Regions from separate parts of the Homo sapiens genome. Here regions 1 and 3 are each linked to region 2. The links are contacts of gene promoters, found by promoter capture Hi-C in human tissues and cell types (Jung and others, 2019). All regions are on one chromosome and are shown on one strand. The core of a region is centred on a gene start or on the middle of the fragment in contact, and the rest is flanking DNA. Distances in the headings are between cores, read along the strand shown. Region 1 holds the start of TMEM240 (transmembrane protein 240). Region 2 holds the start of DVL1 (dishevelled segment polarity protein 1). Region 3 has its middle 9.2 kb from the start of SSU72-AS1.

What was found. The method cuts DNA at HindIII sites, captures the fragments that hold promoters and counts their contacts. A contact is called where the count stands out against the background at its distance.
Region 1: the fragment with the promoter of TMEM240 here is called in contact with the fragment with the promoter of DVL1 in region 2 in 3 of the 25 tissues and cell types used here (heart left ventricle, lymphoblastoid cells and mesendoderm cells).
Region 3: a contact is called between a fragment that was not itself captured here and the fragment with the promoter of DVL1 in region 2, in 1 of the 25 tissues and cell types used here (stomach).

The regions. Positions count from the first base shown.
Region 1 is chr1:1,537,665-1,542,400 of GRCh38, forward strand. It overlaps TMEM240 (transmembrane protein 240), which reads right to left and starts at 2,960. Exons shown (of 4, transcript NM_001114748.2): 1 at 2,626-2,960; 2 at 2,020-2,126. The coding sequence starts at 2,682. SSU72 (SSU72 homolog, RNA polymerase II CTD phosphatase) reads right to left here. Exons shown (of 5, transcript NM_014188.3): 5 at 4,009-4,503. The coding sequence ends at 4,402. RefSeq lists a silencer at 1,545-1,839. The HindIII fragment of the contact is 20,414 bases long and covers 1-4,736 here.
Region 2 is chr1:1,347,025-1,351,194 of GRCh38, forward strand. It overlaps DVL1 (dishevelled segment polarity protein 1), which reads right to left and starts at 2,394. Exons shown (of 15, transcript NM_001330311.2): 1 at 1,872-2,394. The coding sequence starts at 2,041. RefSeq lists enhancers at 97-726, 727-1,356 and silencers at 909-1,085, 2,246-2,425, 2,526-2,845, 2,866-3,015. The HindIII fragment of the contact is 25,707 bases long and covers 1-4,170 here.
Region 3 is chr1:1,581,782-1,586,501 of GRCh38, forward strand. No RefSeq gene overlaps it. Among named protein-coding and RNA genes, the nearest start is that of SSU72-AS1, 9.2 kb to the left of the region's middle. The HindIII fragment of the contact is 3,924 bases long and covers 634-4,557 here.

The DNA.
Region 1 (4,736 bases), core at 1,710-4,209, 190 kb after region 2:
CACACACCAGGTGTGTCCACCTGAGGCCCAGTGTACATCACGTATACACACCAGCCACATGCACGGGACATGGCGTGATACTGTGGACATGGGCCCCGGGAGCGCCACACCCCCGCCCTGTGCACGGTGTGTCACGCGAGTGCATGTTCGCTTGGCTTTGCAAAACGCAGCCACCCTCTCCACGGGGCGCCACGTCACGTGCATGGACGGATGTCTAGTTTGGACGCTGCCTGCCAACAGACTTTGGAGCATTGATTTCCATACACGTTCTCCACGTCAACGTCTACGTATAGGCACGTATGAGGCCTACACATGTACACACACTCGTTCTGAACACCAGCGTGTACACACAGGGAGCCTCTCATGGCAGTGCACGGGCATGGTGGATACGCAGATACCGCATGTGCAAGACTGCTGTCTGCACACACACTGGCTGCAGCTACACGGAGACATCTTGACATGTCCCTGAGCACACGGCACTGTATATTGTGACATACATGTACTTTGCATACACATATATGTTGTCAATATACAAGGGCACTCTGTACGCTGAACGTACATATCCTGTATGTAGAGATGTGAACAGAGCATAGATACATGGACACACACGCAGCAATACCGTCTACAGCAGGCTGTGGCTCTGCTTCCCACACACGGCTGCCTTCAGCGTGCACCCACCCGAGTCCACGCGTGCTCTGGACACGGCATGAGCCGCCCTACATGCCCTGTGCAAATACTCTAAGGCGCCTCTGCCTGCCCCGCGGAGCCCTCAGTGTGCTGCCACAGGCGGATGCACACGGCCCCAGCCCACGTGCGTGGAGGCCGCACCTTTCTGATGCTCTGGAGCTCGGGTCTGGGCCCAGCCTCCGGGAGGCAGTGGAGCCGACCTCAGGCCTTTGCTCAGCAGTCGGACCTGCCAGCCAGGGACACGGGGCTCTCTGGTAGCATGTGGCCACCCCACAAGCTCTTACCCCCTACCCTGTGCCCAGCACACGTGAGGGTCACAGACACCCCGATCTCTGCCTTCTCTAACACCCGTGTTCTTCATCGACACGCCTGCTGCACCCATAGGCATGTCACACGCTTAGCAACACATGCAGCTGTCCTGAACACACATGCCCCACACCCACACGTATGCACAGAGACCCCCGGAGCAGGAGGCAGCAGAGATGACGAACACGGGTTCTGGGCTGGTGCCCCCTTTGTCCTTCACTAGCTGTGTGACCTTGGAAAAGCCTGTCCTCTAAATCCTCCGTCCACTTCCTCATCTGTTCAGCAGGGTTAACAGCGGCCACTGCGTGAGGGTGTCCTGAGGGGTGGAAGTGCATGCGTGCGTGCGCGGGGGCTGTGTGTACGCACATGTATATGCACAGACGCCACACACATGCGCGTCTCATGAGAAGATGTTTATTTCGTACATGGACGTACAAACATGCATGGCCAAGAGGATCCCATCGCTACACGTGCACAGAGGGGGTCACACGGTGGGTGCGGGGGGTCTGGGCGCTCCCCTCAATCTGAATGACCTTGAGGAAGCTCCACCTCCCCGCTGCCCCCCCAGCCCATCCCTCAGCTCCTCTCCAGCCCGGGGGTGGTGCCCAGTGCCCCTCAAGGCAGGCCCTTCCCGCCTTGACCTGCATTCCCCTGCCCAGGGACTCAGTGCAGGGCCCAGCCCTGTGCCAGCAGGCGCTTCCTGCCCCAGCCCTGATGAGGCTGGCTTGGGTCTCCACTGTGGACATCACACTGGGCTGCGGCTTTCCGGCCTCCAGGCTGGACCAGGAGGCCCCGTGACCCATTCCGCCATCACCCTGGAGGCCTCTAGGAACGGCGTCCTAAAGCCATGCGCCCCCAGGAGACCCCCGCCCACCTTGAGACAGCTCCTCCCCCTGCGCACCTGGCAGCCCTCAAGGGTGGAAGGCGGCTCGCGGCCTGCGTGGGGCTGGTTCCCCCGCGCCCCGAGTGGGCCCCGCCACACATGTGCGCTCACGCGTGTCGAGCCGGCGCCGGTTGTGGACTCACCGGCCACAGTTGCAGTGGCAGACGCGGTCCTCGCCCCGCAGGTGCGGGAGGATGTAGTTGTGGAATCGGTCCAGCAGCGCGTTCATGTCCATCAAGCACGCGATGGCCTGGAAGAGCTCATGACCGGTCAGCGCCAAGGAGCGGGCGGGACGAAGCGGGGCTGGGGGTGGGGAGCGCAGGCCGGGGTCGGGGCAGCGCAAGCGGGGAGCGAGAGCGCAGGCCGGGGTGAGGGGAGCGTAGGCCTTGGTAGGGGGAGCGCAGCGGGTATGGGGATCGCAGGCTGGGGAGGGGAGCGCAGGCCGGGGTGGGGGGAGCGCAGGCCCGGGAGGGGACCGCGGGCCGGGGAGGGGGAAGCGCAGGCCGGGGTGGGGGGAGCGTAGGCCGGAGAGAGGAGCGTAGGGAGTGTGGGGATCGCAGGTTGGGGAGGGGAGCGGAGGCCGGGGTGGGGGAGCGCAGGCCGGGGAGGGGAGCGCAGGCCGGGGAGGGGAGCGCAGGCCGGGGAGGGGAGCGCAGGCCGCACGGGCGGTAAACAAGGCGCGGGAGGTGGGCCAGGCGGCGCGCGCGGGCGGGGAGCAGGGGGCGCGCGCGGGAAGCCCCTCCGCTCACCATCACGACCGACGCCCCCAGAATCATGAAGATCATGGTGTTCGCGCTCATGGACATCGGGCGGGGCCGGGCCGGGCCGGAGCGCCGCCCCCCGGCCCCGGCGCCCCCCCGGCCCCGGCCCGATGCTGAGCCCCCGCCGCCTCCGCAGAGGTCAGCGCTTCCCTGGATCGTCCGCCGCCGCTCGCTGCAACCCCGGCACCGGCCGGGGGGAGGAGGCGCGGGGGGGGGGGCGCCGGGGAGGGACGCGGGGCCTTTCTGGGGTCTCTCGGCCCGGCCCGCCGCGCTCCGCTCCGCCCTCGGGTCCTCCCTGCGATGCGCTCGGCTCGGCTCGACTCGGCTCCGCTCGGCTCCGGCCCCCTCCCTGCCTCCTCCTCCCTCCTCCCCCCTCCCTCCCCGCCGCCTTCCTCCGCCTCTCGGGAGGGACCGCGCAGACCGCAGGCCGCCCCGTGCCAGCGCCGGGAGGAGACCGCCATCCCCCGGACGCCGGCCGGGACCCCTCCCCGGGAGCCTCGGCTTCGCGTCCCGCCCCAGTCTGGTCAGACCCAGCCCCGGTGGCCTGTCCGGTGACCCTGGACGCCAGTCCTCCGGTCCTGGAGGGGCGCCGAGGCCCTTCCCGCCCCACTGCTCCGCCCTACGTCCTGGACTCCCAGGTCGCCGGGTGCGGGACTGCCCCAGTCCGCTCGGCACGCACGTGCCTCCAGGGTGGGGTCCGCAAGGTCGCGACAGCCCCACGGCCGTGGGGGCCACAGGTCAGGGACGGGATGACCCCTGGAATCCTCAACGGAGGGATGTGGCACAGGAGCCGAGGGCAGGGCCGCCCCGCACAGGCTTCCCTTAGGGCGGGGACGAGGGGGTCAGCCCAGGCCCATGGGTCGGGACGCCGGCCATTCAGAGGCCCAGTGGCCACCACTCCGCTGTGGCTGTCCCTGGCTCGGGGTCCTGAGGCCAAACTCTCATCCACGACCGGTGACCATGTCTCAGGCCCGGGAGCCGACCCCCGGCCTCAGCAGGAAGTCAGCGGGAAGCTATGCCTGGGACCCAGCCTGGGTCGTGGCGCCATCCAGGCTCACTGCAGCCTCCACTCCTGGGCTCAGGCGATCCTCCCGGCTCAGCCTCCCCCGTAGCTGGCCTTGGGGGATCCCCGCCCGGGGGGGTTCCACATGGAGAGGGGACGCCGCTCCACCACAGGCAGCAGTTGTGGCAGGAGCAGGCGGCTTCCGCTTCAGGCAGCACAGGCACGGGTAGGCCCAGACCCTGTCAGCACCACCAGGTCTGAGCTACTCCTCCCAAGCAGTGGTCGGAGGTCACTGAGGGCGGCAGGGCTAGGCCTCTGCCACCTCCTCAGGGGCGAGGGTCGGGCCAGGAATTCAGGACCAGGCACAATGACAGCAGCATCTGTTTATTGACAATTCCAGGTCATTCCTAACACGCCGCAGCAGGGCTCTGTACAGTCCGGCCCGGTGGGGAGGAGGGAGGGAAGGCAGGCACACGAAGACACAGGTATGTCGGGAAGTGCACACAAACCGTTGTCTTTCCTTTTTGGTTAAAGAAGAAAAACTTTGTAATCAATATCCTGCTCATAAGTAAAAGTGGAAAAGAAGAAACTTGATTGCTTTCATCTGGCGTTTTGGCATCTCCTCTCCCATTTCATATGCACAGTTTATTTGGGTAATGCTACCGTCACCAGCAGAACACCTGTAAGTAAAAACAAATGTCAGGAAGGAAAAAGTATGAACAACAGGAAGCTCCAGAGGCGGCTCCATGCGGGCGCTGGGCTCAGTAGAAGCAGACGGTGTGCAGAAAGGTGCGGCCACTCTTCTCCTCGAACTCCTGCAGCAGCTCGTCGATCTCGTTCTCCATGTCTTCCGTGTGCTGGATCTGCAAGGACAGGACCGTGGTGAGGGCCTTGCCCACTCCTGCCTGTCTGCTCCCCCTAACACCTGGATCGCCAGGGAAACGCCAGGCCTGAGCCAGCAGAAACCAGCGCAGCAGGCAGGCCCTCACCCCACCGCTGCTGCCTCACAAGGACGGCCGGAGGCTGCAGGGGGAGAGCGTCCCGGGCAGCCCCCACCTCCCCACCGACCCTCACAGGACCTGAAGCTGGGAGGAGC
Region 2 (4,170 bases), core at 1,144-3,643:
AATTGATGAGGGTCCTCCGTAGGCTCCTGAGGCCACCAGCCAGAGGACCAGGGAGGACACAGAGCAAGGCCCCCATCCCAGCCAGAGGACCTGGGAGGCTACAGAGCAAGGCCCTCGTCTTGGACCTCCAGCATCACCCCAGTCCATTCTTTCCAACCCCCACAGCCCAGCCCAGCCCAGCCCTGACCTCTGCAGCCCCACTGACTCCCAGCCCCCTGTAAGTCTGCAGCCTCCAAAGCTGTACACTGAAGCTCCCCTGTCTCTTTCCTGGCCGCATCCCCAAGCCTGCCTCGACACCCAGACCTGCCCACCCTGTTCCCAGGCCCGGGCACCCACGCGTCCTCCAAATGTGCCCAGCAGGTGCAGCCACTGCTAGAAGTGCACTAGGGCAACAGTCAGGCTGTCTCTGCCCTGGGCAGCCCCCGGTGGGTGTCAGGAGCAGAAGGCGGACTCCCCCAGGGCTTCATCCCAGAGCATGGTCCAGGAGCAGAACCTGGGGGCTGGGCACCTCCTCACTACGCATTTCCTGGTGGCACACATTTGCAACAAACAGCATTAGTAACTTTGGTAACTTTCGTTAGAATAATAAACTAAGTCAAAAACAAAAGTACCTGACACATGCCCCATGCTCAAGGCCAAAGCAGCCCAGGCCCAGAGAAGCAGGGACTGCAAGGTGCCCCAGCTGGGGAGGAGCCCGGACCAGACTCAGAAAACAAACCGCCCCCTCCTGCCCAACCTGACCGGAGCGGGCAGGAGGGCCGCTGAGCCGAGTGGGGAGCGCCCAGCCTTCAAAGGCTGCCAAGGACGCACCCTGCCCTCTCTGCTTTGCCTGGTCGTGGGGGTGGGGAAGGAAAGTACAGCTGTCTAGATGTCCCTTGGGCCCCCCTGAGAGCTCCAGAGCGGACCCAGCCTGACTGGACCTGGGGCTGCCTGAGGACCCTGCAACCACAGAATCCAAGAAACAACCTTAATGTCACAATCCCAAGAAGCGGCCACACACAAGGACACCGCTTGCCGGAGGCTCACCTCCTGGGGCCACGAGGCCTGAGCCCGCCCCCAGCACTGTTGAGCTGGGACTAGGGACTCAGGTTACTGGTGGCTGGGCCGGGCCAGGCCAGGCCTCAAGCAGACCGCCAGGCTCCTGCTCCCTGTCCCAGAGGGCCCAGCTCAGCACAGCAGGGGTCTCCTCGCCTGGGACACCACCACCGAGGCCCAGCAGGGAGACGCTGACCCAGGCTGCCCCGAAACAGCAGATGGTCTGGGCTGCTCCGGGAACGCAAGTGCTTTGTGGCTCAGTGGGGACGGGGCCCACAGGAAGCTCAGGACACGGGTAGGCGAATAAAGTTTCATGGTCACCAGTGGCCCTTGACCTCCACCCTGTCACAAGGACCCTGCAGAAGGGGGCCAGGAGAACCTGTCTTGACCCTCGGGAAGCTTCTGCAAACCCTAGCAGACAGGTTGGTGAACCTGTACCCCCATGTCTCCCCATCCCAGCTAGGGAACCCCACCCTGCTTCCTTCCCACTGACACGCCCCTGACCCCAGCCCGCACCAACGGCAGGCGCTCCCGGCCAGCCCCGGTGGAAGCGATGCGGCCGACCGAGTCTGACACGGGCCAAGGCAGGACTCGGGGCCGGGAAGCTGGGGCCAGGGACGCCGGGAACCCCGCCTGCCATCGCCCCGCTCCACGGACAGGTGGGCGCGCGCCGCACACGGGCCGAGGCCGCCACCCGCGCCGCATCTAGCGGAGGCGCGTCGCGGTCGCAGGTCCCCGGGGGCGCGAACGGCTCAGGACCCCCGCCCCGTCCCCGCGCGGGCAGGTGCGACCCCCGAGCCCGCGCCAGGCTCGCGCAGGCCTCGCGGCCGACTGACCCGAAGTCCTGGTCCATGGACTTAAAGAAGAATTTGTAGGCGTGCACGGGCCGGTTGCTGAGCACGTTCTTGAAGTCGGCCAGCGTGACGCGCTCGGGGGCCACGGGCAGCTTGACCAGGTACGGCGTCTCCTCCTCGTCCATGTGGTAGATAATCTTGGTCTCCGCCATGGCGCGGCGGCGGCGCGGAGCCCGCGCGCTCAGGGCCCGGCCCGGGGCTCGGACGCGGGGCGCTACCCGCCCGCCCGCCTGCGCCCCGCCCGGCCCGCACCGCTCTCGGCCCCGACGCTCCGAGGCCCCCGGGCGCCCCCGCCCGACCGCCCAGGCCCCGGCCGCCGCCCCCGGCTCCCGCGCGCGTCCCGACTGCTGCCCCGCGGCCCGCGGCCGCCCATCCGCCCCCGGCCCGGGAGCGGCGCGAGGGACGCAGCACGGAGGGCGCGCTCAGCCCCGCCGCCCTCCCGCCTGCGCCCCTCGGGCCGCGCCGTTAAAGGGACCGCCCGGCCCGGGGTCCTGAGCGTGGCCGCGGGGGGGCGCCCGAGCGCGCGGCGTTGACGTCACGGGGGCGCACGGCGGGGGCGGGGCGAGGATGCGCAGACGCAGGCGATCATCGCTCGCCCCGCCCCGCCCCGGCCCCGCCCCCGCGCGCGGGCCCGCGCTCCATTATGATCCGGCGCATGCGACGCGCGCCGCTGGCTGTGGGCCCGTGGGCGCCGGGGCGCTCGGGTCGGGCGGAGGGACCCCGGGGACGCCGGGTGCGCGGCGCTGAGGTGGCGCCCGGTCGCTCTGCGCCACCGCGAAGGCTCCCGACTCGCGTGCCCTCTGCCGGGTCCCACGGGGTCCAGGCAGCAGGCCGAGCGGATGCGGGGCGCGCGGGGGCGCGGGCGTGCACGGAGGCGTCGGAGCGCCCGGCGGCGGGAGGGATTTAGTCCTGGGGTTCTCCGCAGGGCAGGGGAGACTTCCGAGGCGTCCCTTGAGGCCGCGGGGCGTCCGCGCTTACTGTTCCGGGGCTCGCGGGGCTGGAGGCCTTCCCGACCCGACCCCAGCAGGAAGCGCGGAGGCCACTAGAGGGCGGCCCAGGATGGGAGGAGTGAGGAGGGGGCCTGGACGGGGCAGGAGCGACGGGGGGAGTGAGGAGGGGGCCTGGACGGGGCAGGAGCGACGGGGGGAGTGAGGAGGGGGCCTGGACGGGGCAGGAGCGACGGGGGGAGTGAGGAGGGGGCCTGGACGGGGCAGGAGCGACGGGGGGAGTGAGGAGGGGGCCTGGACGGGGCAGGAGCGACGGGGGGAGTGAGGAGGGGGCCTGGACGGGGCAGGAGCGACGGGGGGAGTGAGGAGGGGGCCTGGACGGGGCAGGAGCGACGGGGGGAGTGAGGAGGGGGCCTGGACGGGGCAGGAGCGACGGGGGGAGTGAGGAGGGGGCCTGGACGGGGCAGGAGCGACGGGGGGAGTGAGGAGGGGGCCTGGACGGGGCTGGAGCGACGGGGGGAGTGAGGAGGGGGCCTGGACCGGGCAGGAGCGACGGGGGGAGTGAGGAGGGGGCCTGGACCGGGCAGGAGCGACGGGGGGAGTGAGGAGGGGGCCTGGACGGGGCAGGAGCGACGGGGGGAGTGAGGAGGGGGCCTGGACGGGGCAGGAGCGACGGGGGGAGTGAGGAGGGGGCCTGGACGGGGCAGGAGCGACGGGGGGAGTGAGGAGGGGGCCTGGACGGGGCAGGAGCGACGGGGGGAGTGAGGAGGGGGCCTGGACGGGGCAGGAGCGACGGGGGGAGTGAGGAGGGGGCCTGGACGGGGCAGGAGCGACGGGGGGAGTGAGGAGGGGGCCTGGACGGGGCAGGAGCGACGGGGGGAGTGAGGAGGGGGCCTGGACGGGGCAGGAGCGACGGGGGGAGTGAGGAGGGGGCCTGGACCGGGCAGGAGCGACGGGGGGAGTGAGGAGGGGGCCTGGACGGGGCAGGAGCGACGGGGGGAGTGAGGAGGGGGCCTGGACGGGGCAGGAGCGACGGGGGGAGTGAGGAGGGGGCCTGGACGGGGCAGGAGCGACGGGGGGAGTGAGGAGGGGGCCTGGACGGGGCAGGAGCGACGGGGGGAGTGAGGAGGGGGCCTGGACCGGGCAGGAGCGACGGGGGGAGTGAGGAGGGGGCCTGGACCGGGCAGGAGCGACGGGGGGAGTGAGGAGGGGGCCTGGACGGGGCAGGAGCGACGGGGGGAGTGAGGAGGGGGCCTGGACGGGGCAGGAGCGACGGGGGGAGTGAGGAGGGGGCCTGGACGGGGCTGGAGCGACGGGGGGAGTGAGGAGGGGGC
Region 3 (4,720 bases), core at 1,346-3,845, 230 kb after region 2:
CGTGGAGGCGGGCATCTGTAATCCCAGCCACTTGGGAGGCTGAGGTGGGAGAATCACTTGAACCCAGGAAACAGAGGTTGCAGTAAGCTAAGATCAAGCCACTGCACTCCAGCCTGGGCGACAGGTGAGACTCTTAATGAGTAAACCCAGGCAAAAATGTATGCTGCCAATTTTTATGACATTTCTATTTTTATTTTACAGCAAATTTAAAACCAGCTTATTTATTAAAGATTTACAGCCTGGGGGCCGGGCGTGGTGGCTCACACCTATAATCCCAGCACTTTGGGAGGCCGAGGCGACCGGATCACGATCAGGAGACCATCCTGGCTAACACAGTGAAACCCTATGGCTACTAAAAACACAAAAATTAGCCGGGTGTAGTGGTGGCACATGCCTGTGATCCCAGCTACTCAGGAGGCTGAAAATCACTTGAACCTGGGAGTCGGAGGTTGCAGTGAGCCAAGATCGCGCCACTGTACTCCAGCCTGGGTGACAGAGCGGGACTTCATCTCAAAACAACAACAACAAAAAACAGACAATTGGATCCCAATTATATGATAGTATTTCTGACAAAATGGGACATGTTCACATGGCTAAACTTTATTTGCCCAAATAGGTGATCTAATGAAGGATACAGACCAAAATTTGGGGGATCGCAGTTTGTATAGGAGGTTTATTATTTTAAAAAACCTCATTTTACCATTTTTCCCATTTCAAATGATTTGGGGTTATGTATTCACATGTTTCTCCACCTCTCCCTTTCCCCCAGGACTCTTGGCTTTCAGAAGCCCCTCTGGAACATCCCACCCAGTAAAACCCCATCCCACCAGTGCAGAAAACATGGTGCCCCTATTATAGTGGATCCAGCCTTGAAGAGGCCTCACCCTGCCTCAACACCTCTTCCCCAAGACCCTGACGGCCAGGACAGTGTCTTTTTGCCTTCAGACTAGGCAGAGTGAGGTCCCCTGAGAGAGATAAATATTGTTATTTCCCCACCCAAAGTTATTTGCATTAGGTGAAAAATGGCCACACATTCTTTGTGGTTCCTCTCATCAAGACATACGGTCTCTTTCTCATCCCTTGAATCCGGGCAAAGCCTTGTGATTTGCTCTGATCAAAAGAACTTAGTAGAACTGACGTTGTCCCAGCCCCAGTTCCAGGCCCAGAACCCAAGAAATCTTGCAGCTTCTACTCTCACTCTCCTGGAGCCCTAAGGCTGAAGCAGCCTGCTAGACAGGCCACCCCAACCAACAACCTGTCACCTGCCAGACAAGTGAGTCAGGCTGTCCTAGACCATCCAGGTGTAGCGGATGTGACAAATGACCACAGCTCCATGAGGGTCCGCAGGTGAGCCCAGTGCAGATTGCCAACCCACAGAATTGTGGACAAATACGTGACCTGTTTTTGCTGCCAAATTTTGGGATGGTCTGTTACACAGTGAAGGCTAGCTGATACGCAGTTCCTCATTTCTCCTCTGGTGATGAGATCCACTTTCATTTCAGGAGGCAGTGTGCCAGTCTCAGTAGATGGAACACAATCCACAATCGGTCTATTCAACCATGACAATTTTATTCCCTACTGTTGGGGAAGTGTCTCGAGTCAGACCCTCCCCACCAAGTGCAAAGAGAACGCATCTCAGCTATCCCTTCTGCCAGCCCAGCCTACGGGGGCCAGATGTATCTTCTGGGCTCTTAGAAGTGTCAGTCGGTGCCATGGGGACTGCTCCTACAAGTCTGGCGTGGATGCCCCCAGGTACACCCTGAGGTCCGAGAGGGTGGACTGCACAAGCTTGTCCAGGATGGCCCTTGCTGCAGCTACCGGTAGGCTGCGTGCCAATAACAGCCGCCAAAGGAGTAGAAGTAATCACCAACCTGGGTCCCTTTGATCCAGGACATCCGTGGGGCACACTGTCTGGGTCTTCCTAGGTCATGTCCACGAGGTTCTGCGTCTCGGCTGGGCCCAGCACAGATGGTGGCAGCTACGTGAGCAGCTCAGTGGCACGCCGTGCACCTGGGAATGCAGCCCGACTGGGCACTCCCGCCCTGCACACCGTTGCAGGGCCTGGGACCCGGGGCTGCCCCAGCCCACATCCACCCTGCCCGATCGATGCTCCTCCTGCACACAGCCCCGTTACCACTGCCACTGCCCCAAAGCATAAAAATTTTTTTTTTTTTTTTGAGATGGAGTTTTGCTCTTGTTGCCCAGGCTGGAGTGCAATGGCATGATCTCAGCTCACCACAACCTCTGTCTCCCGGGTTCAAGCAATTCTTCTGCTTCAGCCTCCCGAGTAGCTGGGATTACAGGCATGCGCCATTAATTTTGTATTTTTAGTAGAGATGGGGTTTCTCCATGTTGGTCAGGCTGGTCTCAGACTCCAGACCTCAGATGATCCGCCCGCCTCGGCCTCCCAAAGTGCTGGGATTACAGGCGTGAGCCACCGCGCCCGCCAATTAATTTTTTTTTTTTTTTTTTGAGACGGAGTCTCGCTGTGGCCCAGGCTGGAGTGCAGTGGCGCAATCTCAGCTTACTGCAAGCTCCATCTCCCAGGTTCACACCATTCTCCTGCCTCAGCCTCCCGAGTAACTGGGACTACAGGCACCCACCACCACACCCGGCTAATTTTTTGTATTTTTAGTAGAGACGGGATTTCACCGATTAGCCAGGATGGTCTCAGTCTCCTGACCTTGTGATCCACCCACCTCAGCCTCCCAAAGTGCCAGGATTACAGGCGTGAGCCACCGTGCCCGGCCAGTTTTGGGGTTTTTTTGTTTTTGTTTTTGTTTTTGAGACAGCGCCTTGCTGTGTCGACCAGGCTGGAGTGCAGTGGCATGATCTTGGCTCAGTGCAACCTCTGCGTCCCGGGTTCAAGCAATTTTCTTGCCTCAGCCTCCTGAGTAGTTGCAATTACAGGCGTGTGCCACCACGCCTGGCTAATTTTTTGTATTTTTAGTAGAGACGGGGTTTCACCATGTTGGCCAGGCTGGTCTCGAACTCCTGACCTCGTGATCCTCCCACTTTAGCCTCCCAAAGTGTTGGGATTACAGGCGTGAGCCACCGTGCCTGGCCACCCATCAGTTTTAAAATGTGCCTGAGTTAGAGCAGAACAGAAGCTGAGAAAAATTAAAAAGAAAGATAAATAAGTACAGTTTGCCCAAGTTGGGCCATAATATAGCCTGCTGGAGAACCAAAAAATCTGCTGTGACTTAATGTTTGAGAATCCCATTTCATTTCTTCTTATTTTCTGAAGAGCAAAGAAGCTTCCATAGATCCTATCAGGAATTGTCAAGCACATGGACCACTGTTTCAGATGGTGGCGACAGACCCAGTAACTTTCGTTGTTGTTTTGTTTTCTTTTGAAACAGAATCTCACTCTGCAGTCCAGGCTGGAGTGCAGCGGTGCAATCTTGGCTCACTGCAACCTCTGCCTTGTGAGTTCAAGCGATTCTCCTGCCTCAGCCTCTAGACTAGCTGGGATTACAGGTGCATGCCACCATGTCCAGCTAACTTTTTTTGTTTGTTTATTTGTTTGTTTGTTTGTTTTGAGACGGAGTCTTGCTCTATTGCCCAGGCTGGAGTGCAGTGGTGCAATCTCGGCTCACTGCAAGCTTCACCTCCCGGGTTCATGCCATTCTTCTGCCTCAGCCTCCCAAGTAGCTGGGACTACAAGTGCCCGCCACCACGCCTGGCTAATTTTTTTTTTGAGATGGAGTCTCGCTGTGTCGCCCAGGCTGGAGTGCAATGGCGCAATCTCAGCTCACTGCAAGCTCTGCCTCCCAGGTTCACGCCATTCTCCTGCCTCAGCCTCCCAAATAGCTGGGACTACAGGCACCCGCCACCACGCCCGGCTAATTTTTTGTATTTTTAGTAGAGACAGGGTTTCACCGTGTTAGCCAGGATGGTCTCGAACTTCTGACCTCGTGATCCACCTGCCTCGGCCTCCCAAAGTGCTGGCATTACAGGTGTGAGATACCGCGCCCAGCCAAGACTCTTTTTTTAAAAACAAACAAGCAAACAAAAATTATCTGGACATAGTAGAACCAGCCTGTGGTCCCAGCTACTGAGGAGGCTGAGGTGGGAGAATCGCTTGAGCCTGGGATGTTGAGGCTTCAGTGAGCCAACACTGTGCCACTCCACTCCAGCCTGGGCAACACAGAGAGACCATGTCTTAAATAATAATAATAATAATAATAATAATAAAATGCAATTTTAAAAAGAGGGAAGCACAGCCACAGAAGATTCTCCAAGGCAGAGCATGCGAACCACGGAAGCAGAGAGCCCATAGGGCTCGGCGAGCATGGGGCACTGGCTCCAAGAACCGCCAGTTCCTTCTTAAAGTGACCTTCCTTCAGGTCCTGTTTCAGAGCATCATTTATGTCAAACTAAATAACAGAGAGGGGTTCTCTAGCAGAAAATGATATTTATTCGAAGAGGACAGCCAGAAGAGGAAGAGGGCAGGGAGGCGACCAGGATGACCAGCTGCAGAGAGGAGTACCTTCTCCTCTGTCCTCCGCTGAGAGCTGCCCAGACAACCTGTCAGCAGAGAGGAGCTACCTCTACCCTGTCTGTGGAGAGCCTGAGACCTGCGGAGACATCCAAACGACTTCCTGTGGAGAGGAGCCGCCCTCTCCAGCCTCCTGTCTGCCAAGAGCTCAACACTCACCGGGAGGATGCTGTTCTCACATTAAATAAACTCTTCTTTTTCTTTTTTGGGACGAGGTCT